2 separate regions of the Homo sapiens genome follow, and region 2 is linked to region 1. The links are contacts of gene promoters, found by promoter capture Hi-C in human tissues and cell types (Jung and others, 2019). All regions are on one chromosome and are shown on one strand. Each heading gives the region's core, a stretch centred on a gene start or on the middle of the fragment in contact. The rest is flanking DNA. Distances are from core to core; before and after follow the strand shown. Region 1 holds the start of POU2F3 (POU class 2 homeobox 3). Region 2 has its middle 120 kb from the start of NECTIN1-AS1.

Region 1 (4,030 bases), core at 448-2,947:
CCCTGCTGGGTCCCAACTGTCCCACCCCCTCCCACTTCCACAGAATGGGAGCCTCCAGTAGACAAGGAGGTGGAAAACCCCCAGGAAGTCTGTGATCTTGGTGCTAAAAAACTTCCCATCCACTGCTAAGCCCACCTTTCTGAAGAGACTTGCTCCCATTCAAACCCTGGCCTTCTCTGCGGGCAGTGAAGGGGAGAGCACCTACCCGGGGATCTGCCCCAGGTATGCCCAGTCTAGAAACAGACTTTCCTCAGACTCTGGATGACACCCAGTTGGATGGCTTCTTCCGCCTCACCTAGCCTTTCTGGCACGTCCTGGAGAGCCACTCAGTGCCAACATCTCACTGCCAGTCTGCCTCTCACTCAGCCCTGCCAGGAAACAGCATCTGGGGAACTGGGCACTCCAGGTCCCCTCCCTCCGGGCACTCACTGACGCTTGTTTTCAGGCTGGGTAGGCCTCAGGCCTGCTCTGCTTCTTGGGGTGGGTCTGGAGCATTGCCTCCTCCCTACTCTCCCAGAAAGGAGACCAGGTAACAACATTCCCATCAACAGCCCCGAAATCCTAAAGAAAGATCACTGGGTCCTGCCCACTTTGAGAGTAAGTTGCTAGGTTAGAAATGGCCAGGTCAGGTACCGCTTTCTTCACTTGTTCTTTGCTCAGGCCCTGTGACCTCCAGAAGGCCCACCCTAACAGGAAGCCCCAAGCCAAGCCCAACCTGGCTGCCTGGCAGCTCCTGCCTTAGCCCAGCTGTGGAAGGAGGAACAGCAAGGTGAATGGAGGGGCTGGGTTCCCTCCATGCCCACCTCTCATTCATTCATTCAGGGAAGCCTGACTCCCGGCAAAGCATTTGCATCTCCTAGGTTTCCACCCCTTAGGGAAGGAAGGCATGGGACATGGAACCCAGAGGATGTGTCTGTCACCATCCCTTCTCAAACACATGGGGGCATGGCCCCTGCCCCAGGGGCACCTCTGTAATTGCCCCACCTCAGCCACTTCTCCTAAGCCCCCCAACCACCTAAATGTCCGCTTTGCCTCCATTTCACACATATGCCCGGACACCAGCACACAGCATGTGGACATACACATTTCCCTCACTTATGCACTCCCAGGTCCACACCCCTGGCTGAGTGAGTGAACCACCCATCCCTGCAACCTCCTGAGACTATGACAGTTCAGTACACCCACGTCCCATACAACTGCCACTCCCCAGACCGGGGGCTTCGAAGCCCTCCCGCCCTTCACCAGCCCCCACCCTCATTCTTTTCCAGGGTTTCTTATCCCAGATCCCCTCCCTTTAGTCCCCAAATACTGACCGGCACCCACCCCAGGACAACCCGCTATCCACACCGCCCTCTCCTGGCCGCTGGGAAACAAGCCCCCCTCCCTAACCAGAACGTTGTCCCTCTCCTTCACCCCTGCCCACGCGCAGTGACACCTGTCAGAGCTCATTCCCTCCGCCCCTCACCTGTGTGCATGGACTCCAGATTCACCATCCTGCCCCAGGCGGGGCCAAAGCCAGCGCCCCCCCAGGCCCCTCGCCTCTGCCCCAGCCGGGGCCCCTGCGAAGCCAGGGTCTCCTTCCTCCAGTTCCCGGCCGCCGCCGCCGCGGGAGCCGCTGCCGGAGCCGTCGCCGCCACTGTCGCGCGCTCCGCTGCTCCGGCCCGGGCAACACTCGGCGCCGCCAGGATTGCCACACTCCCCAGGTGAGCACGCGGCGCGGGGCGGGGGCCGCCGGCCACGCCCCCTGGCAGGAGCCCCGCGCCTGGCCCCAGGCCCATGCAAAGCAGTGATTTGCATACATGGAGCTGGGGACCTGGGGAGGGGGCCGGGGGTGCTGCCGGGGCGGGTCTCGATCCCGCGGAACACCTGCCTGCTCCAACCCAGCCTGGCAGCACCTCCTCACCGCGCCCGGAGTGGCGCCAACTCCTGGTCCTGCTCGCCCTTTTTAGGAAGCCCTGGCGGGTTCTCCAGCCTGAGCCCGAGCTTCCTTCTGGACAGATCGCGAAGTGTAAGCGCTGCAAGGAGTTGGAGTGTTTGGAGAAGTCGCGGGGGTCTGCTGGAAAGAATTCAGTTTTGGAATCTCGCCTCCCAACCGCTTACCAGCAGTGTGGCTGGGACAAGGTTCTTCACCTCCCTGAGCTCATTTAACTCACCTGTAAAACAGGACAGGTGCTAATCGGGTTCCCTATTGGGCTGAGCAGGTGACCAAGCTCACCTAGCCCCCATGGCATCCTCACAGCATTGTGGGATTTAGACGGGGTGCAGTTTATTATTAGCAGAGTTTCCAGGTGCACACAACTGCTTCCTGCTTGCCCCTCCAGTCTCCCGCCCCAGGTCCCAGGTTGCTGTGAGGCTCTACGAGATGATGGATGTGGAAGTTACCAGTGCCCAGGCTTTTGGTGACAGCCACCTTCCAGAGCGGGGAAGCGGCTTGCTCAAAGGTGCACACTTCCCTAGTGACAGAGCCTGGCTGGAATCAGGTCTCTGGACTCCCACTCCAGTGCTCTTTGCAGCACCCATCATAGGCTCACCCCTTTCTCTTCGTCTCTTCAAGTCCCAGTAAGTGGTCTGTCACCACAGGATGGCCTGCATGGAAGCCCAGAAAGCTGTGTGCAGACAGGAGGGCAGGGCCTCGCTTTCCTTCCCAGACAGGACTCCTCATGAACATGTCTTCTCCTTAGTCCCATGGGCTACTTTCTGAGCACAGAACAGGTTTTGGGCTTTCCTGCCTCTACACCTTGTTTACAGTGTCCTTTCCCCCTGGCACGCCCATCCCACCGTGCACTCCAGTCATGCCCACGATAACACCCAGCATTTCGTGTGCCTTCACTGTGTATCAAGCACTGGGGTGACCAACACTTGAAAGGCATCTTTCGTGCCTTTAGTTCTTGTTTAGTCCTCAAAACCTGTACATTGTACTATGATTATTGCCATTTTATAGATGGGGAAAATGAGGCTTAGAGAGTTTAAGTTCCGTGTTCTTTTTTTTTTTTTTTTTTTTTTTTTTTTAGACAGAGTCTTGCTCTGTTGCCAGGCTGGAGTGCAGTGGTGCAATCTCGGCTCACTGCAACCTCCACCTCCTGGGTTCAAGCGATTCTCCTCAGCCTCCTGAGTGGCTGAGACTATAAGCACGTGCCACTACACCCAGCTAATTTTTGTGTTTTTAGGAGAGACAGGGTTTCACCACGTTGCCAGGATGGTCTCGATCTCCTGACCTCGTGATCCACCCGCCTCAGCCTCCCAAAGTGCTGGGATGACATGTGTGAGCCACCACGCCCAGCCTAAGTTCCATGTTCTTAACAGCCTTCGTGGCAGGTTCTGAGGGCCTTTTCTTAGCTTACCCCCTGGTTGGTAACTGATCAATTGCTTCATTCTAGTGCCAGCACCCCAGCACCTAGAACAGGGCTGGGCACACAACAGGTATCAGAAAGTGTTCTGTGGGTGCTACAGTGGCCCCAGAGGAACAGGAAGCACTTAATTGCTTCTTCAGGTCCACATACACCACCCTCCCCAGTCACATGGACCTCCCTTCCCCACGCTCCCGAAAAGAAGGGAGGAGAGAAACTTCTTCTTGCTTCTTTTTCTTTTTCTTTTTTGAGATGGAGTTTCTACCTTGTTGCCCAGGCTGGAGTGCAATGGCATCATCTCGGCTCACGGCAATCTCCGCCTCCCAGGTTCAAGCGATTCTCCTGCCTCAGCCTCCCGAGTAGCTGGGATTACAGGCATGCGCCACCATGCCCGGCTAATTTTGTATTTTTAGTAGAGACGGGGTTTCTCCATGTTGGTCAGGCTGGTCTCAAACTCCTGACCTCAGGTGATCTGCCTGCCTCGGCCTCCCAAAGAGCTGGGATTACAGGTGTGAGCCACCGTCCCCTGCACTTTTTCTTGTTTCTTCTGGGTGAGGAAAGAGACCAGCAAGGGCTTATTGGAGGCCCAAGGGGGTCCCTCTCAGGACACTCTCAGCCTCTGTTCCTTCCTTCCCTCCTATTCAACACTCCCCCAACTCCCATCCCCTTCTGGCCTTTTCTTC
Region 2 (4,030 bases), core at 982-3,481, 650 kb after region 1:
CTGTTCCCCAAGTTTCACGTGTTGGAAACAGTCTTCAAATTTATATGTCAATTGGAGGTGGGGCCTTTGGGAGATTCTTAGGATTAAGTAAGATCATCAGAGTGAAACTCCTTCTTATAAAGCCACCAGTCCCATCAGGGAAAAGAGACCTGAACTGACATGTATGCTCCTGCCCTCTTGCCATGTGATGCCCTCCACCATGCTATGACACAGCAAGAAGGCCCTTGCAGAAACTGAGCAGATGATGACACCATGTTCTTGGACTTCCCAACCTCCAGAATTATAAAAAATAAATTTATTTTCTTTATAAATTACCCAGTCTCTGTTTTTGTTTGTTTGTTTGTTTGTGACAGCACCTCATTCTGTCACCCAGGCTGGAGTGCAGTGGTGCAGTCTTGGCTCACTGCCACCTCTACCTCCCAGGTTCAAGTGATTCTCCTGCCTAAGCCTCCCAATTAACTGGGATTACAGGTGTCTGCCACTACACCTGGCTAATTTTTGTATTTTTAGTAGAGACAGCGTTTCACCATGTTGGCCAGGCTGATCTCAAACTCCTGACCTCAAGTGATCTGCCTGCCTCAGCCTCCTAAAGTGCTGGGATTACAGGCATGAGCCACTGCACCCGGCCCAAGAGCTCCTTATTTAACTCCCTTCCTCACTCTACTTTCCAGCAACAGTAGTGTCACCAATGCCTGAGACTCTGGAGGGGTTTTGGAGAAAGGGGGTGGGAATTGGCTTTTTAGCTTTCCCCTCTTTCAGTTTGGGCTTCAGCTTTTCCCAGTCTACTCAGTTTACTCATTCATTGCTTTACAGTTTCCAAACTTGGGCTGCTGTTGTCTTCTCTCCCATTATTTCTGGCACAGGGCAAACCCCAAAATTGGGGCTCAGCCCGGGAGGCCACGTGGGTTCTTGGCTTTGTGCAGGAAGAAATTCAAGCACAGGAAGGAATTCAAGAGCAAGCAGAATAAAGTGAAAGCAAGTTTATTAAGAAAGTAAAGGAATAGGCTGGGCACGGTGGCTCACCCCTATAATCCCAGCACTTTGGGAAGCCGAGGCACGTGGATCACCTGAGGTCAGGAGTTCCAGACCAGCCTGGCCAACATGGAGAAACCCCATCTCTACTAAAAATACAAAAACTAGCAGGGCGTGGTGGCGTGCACCTGTAATCCCAGCTACTGGGGAGGCTGAGGCAGGAGAATCACTTGAACCCAGGAGGCGGAGGTTGCAGTGAGCCAAGATCGTGCCACTGCACTCCAGCCTGGGCAACAGAGCAAAACTCCATCTCAAAAAAAAAAAAAAGAAGAAAACTAAAGGAATAAAAGGTGGTTATTCCATAGGCAGAGCAGCCTTTGAGGGCTGTTGGCCGGCTATATTTATAGTTAATTCTTGATTATATGCTAAATATGGGGTTGATTATTCATGAGTTTTCCAGGAAAGGGGCAGAGATTTCCCAGAACTGAGGGTTCCTCCTTCTTTTAGACCATATAAGGTAACTTCTGGATGTGCGATGGCATTCGTAAACTGTCATGGCGCTAGTGAGAGTGCCTTTAGCATGCTAATGCATTGTAATTAGCATATAATGAGCAGTGAGGACAATCAGAGATTGCTTTTGTTGCCATCTTGGTTTTGGCAGGTTTTGACTGGCTTCTTTGCCACATCCTGTTTTATCAGCAGTGTCCTTGTGACCCGCATCTTGTAAAACAAGTCCTGCCGAATTTCTGTCTCATCTCCACCTTTATGGGTTTCTGATTTTTAAAAAATCCCTTTATAGTCACTTTAGGGTTTTCAAGAAGAGCAAGATGAATTGTGTGCATTCAATTCACCATCTTTACTGGAAGTCTCCATCTGCATTCCACCTTTGAACTGATGGGCTTATGCCTTTTAATAAAATCCTTTTACTGTTATTTCCATGGGCTTTGGGGAGTGTAAACTAATGAATGGGTTCAACTTGCCATCTTTAACTGGAACTGATTTGTTTGTTATTAAACTTTGCTCTAGACATAAATGTCTATCTCCCCACTTACAGCACTTACTGTGGTGAGCTTCTTAAGAAGAATTTTTTGTTTTTTTGTTTTTTGCCTCAAAAGCCAGCACAACGGCTGGATACTAAAGACTTATGACTGGGCCTAGGTTTTCATGTTATTTAAACTACCTTCCCTTCTCCTCCACAAATGTGCATTCAACAAATATTTACCAAATATTTAGTAAGCATCTACTGTTTGTCAGGTAATATTCAGGCCCCAGGCACACAGCAGAAGTCAAGTCCGACTGAGTTGATGCTCACATGGAACTTGCATTCAGCTCTGTTAAAATATTCTCTAGGAGCTTATTACTTCTCAAGGCAGCCCACCCTATCAGCTCCTGCTGAAAACTGGTTTCCCATTACTTTCGCTCATTGGTCCAAATTCCTCCTGGCAGAGGCTCCCTCTTCTGTAGGATAGACCTCCAGTTAAGTAAAGATGATCTGTGATTCTGTTTTCTTCATACTTTCCTTCAACCACTCATACAGTTCCGGCGCCTCCTCCCACAATGAAGTCACGAAACACTCAGGATGCTCCCCCATTCTCTTCCTTCTTCTCTGTGAGTAGGAAAGTGGGATAAAGTCAAAAATAATATATTTAGTCTTTGTCCCAGGTTCCTGGCACAGAGCTTCAAAAACCCTCAGAAGTTTGAATGACAGGAATGTCTTTTGTTATTCATAATGAGCCCTTTTCAGCCACACCTGAGTTTATGCTAATGAGATGACTCACAGCAGATCCCCTAGACAGTTTCAGAACAGAGGCTGGTTCTCAGGAAAACCAACCAAGGGATTAAAGAGTTGGAACTTTCAGCCCCTCCCCTCTCCCTTCCACCTCCAGGAAAAGATGGAGATGGAGTCCAGTCACATGGCCAATGATTAAATCAATCATGCTTACATAATGAAACCTCAACAGAAACTCTGAACAACAAGGCTTGGAGAACTTCCTGGTTGGTAAACATACTAATATTGGCATACCAGAAGGGTGGCACACCCTGACTCCAACAGAAGCTTTTGTGCTTGGGACTCTTCCAGACCTTGCTGTGTGTGCATGTTCATCAGGCTGTTTATTTGTATCTTTTACAATAAAATGGTAATTGTAAATATAATGCTTCCAGTGAGTTCTCTGAGTCATTCTTTATCAACCCAAAATGAGGGTGTAGAGGAACCCCCGAATTTATAGCTGGGCAGGCAGAAGTGTGAGTGGCTTGAGGACACCCAGGACTTGTAGTTGGTACCTGAAGTGGGCAGTCTTGCGGGACTAAGCCCCTTAACCTGTGGGATTTGTGCTAACGCCAGGTAGCTGATGTCAGAATTGAATTGGATTGAATTGAATTGAATTGAATTGAATTGAATTGAATTGAATTGAATTGAATTGAATTGAGTGACATCCAGTCGGTGTCAGGGGACTGGTGTGGGAAGGCAGAAAGGGAGCCTGCTGTGATGCTCGGCACCCCAATATCTTTCCCTCTTGGCCTCATGCTCTCTGCCCAGCCAAAGAGAACTCAATTTACCCTTGGAGCACCATTGTTTGATGGGATGGGCCTAGGGCTCTGAAAACAGCTTCCTTCCTTCTCCAATTGTGTGTACTGCAATCTGTTTCCCATTATTTCCCATTATTTCTCTGTTTGAAGGAAGGTTTACTTATCATCTCCAATGACTGTAAAACCCATCAGAGTTGTCTTGGCTCCTGTGAAATGTCCAGCAAATATGGGCATTCAGGGGATGCTCAGTAATGGTGCTTGGCATGTGTTAGCTTGGCATGCATTAATTTGCCCTTTGAAGAGATCCTGCCCCTCCTCCACCCTCCTTCCCTCCTGCAGACTCCCATGAAAGCTTTCATGAGTGCTCAGAGGGTCCTCACTGGAATGAGTCCTAGAGGCCCAAGTCTAACTTTTGTTGGATTGGGAGGAACCCACGTGGATACATATCACAACTTCAGTTTTTGTTGGTTGTTTTTGAGGCTGTTGTTTTGGTTTACCATGGAACATGCACCTGTATGTGCAGGGGTGG

Evidence for each region. Contacts are between HindIII fragments. The study calls those that stand out against the background at their distance.
Region 2: a contact is called between a fragment that was not itself captured here and the fragment with the promoter of POU2F3 in region 1, in 2 of the 25 tissues and cell types used here (dorsolateral prefrontal cortex and thymus).

What each region holds. Positions count from the first base shown.
Region 1 is chr11:120,237,807-120,241,836 of GRCh38, reverse strand. POU2F3 (POU class 2 homeobox 3) reads right to left here and starts at 1,697. Exons shown (of 13, transcript NM_014352.4): 1 at 1,466-1,697. The coding sequence starts at 1,493. The HindIII fragment of the contact is 19,243 bases long and covers 1-4,030 here.
Region 2 is chr11:119,589,682-119,593,711 of GRCh38, reverse strand. No RefSeq gene overlaps it. Among named protein-coding and RNA genes, the nearest start is that of NECTIN1-AS1, 120 kb to the left of the region's middle. The HindIII fragment of the contact is 7,169 bases long and covers 1-4,030 here.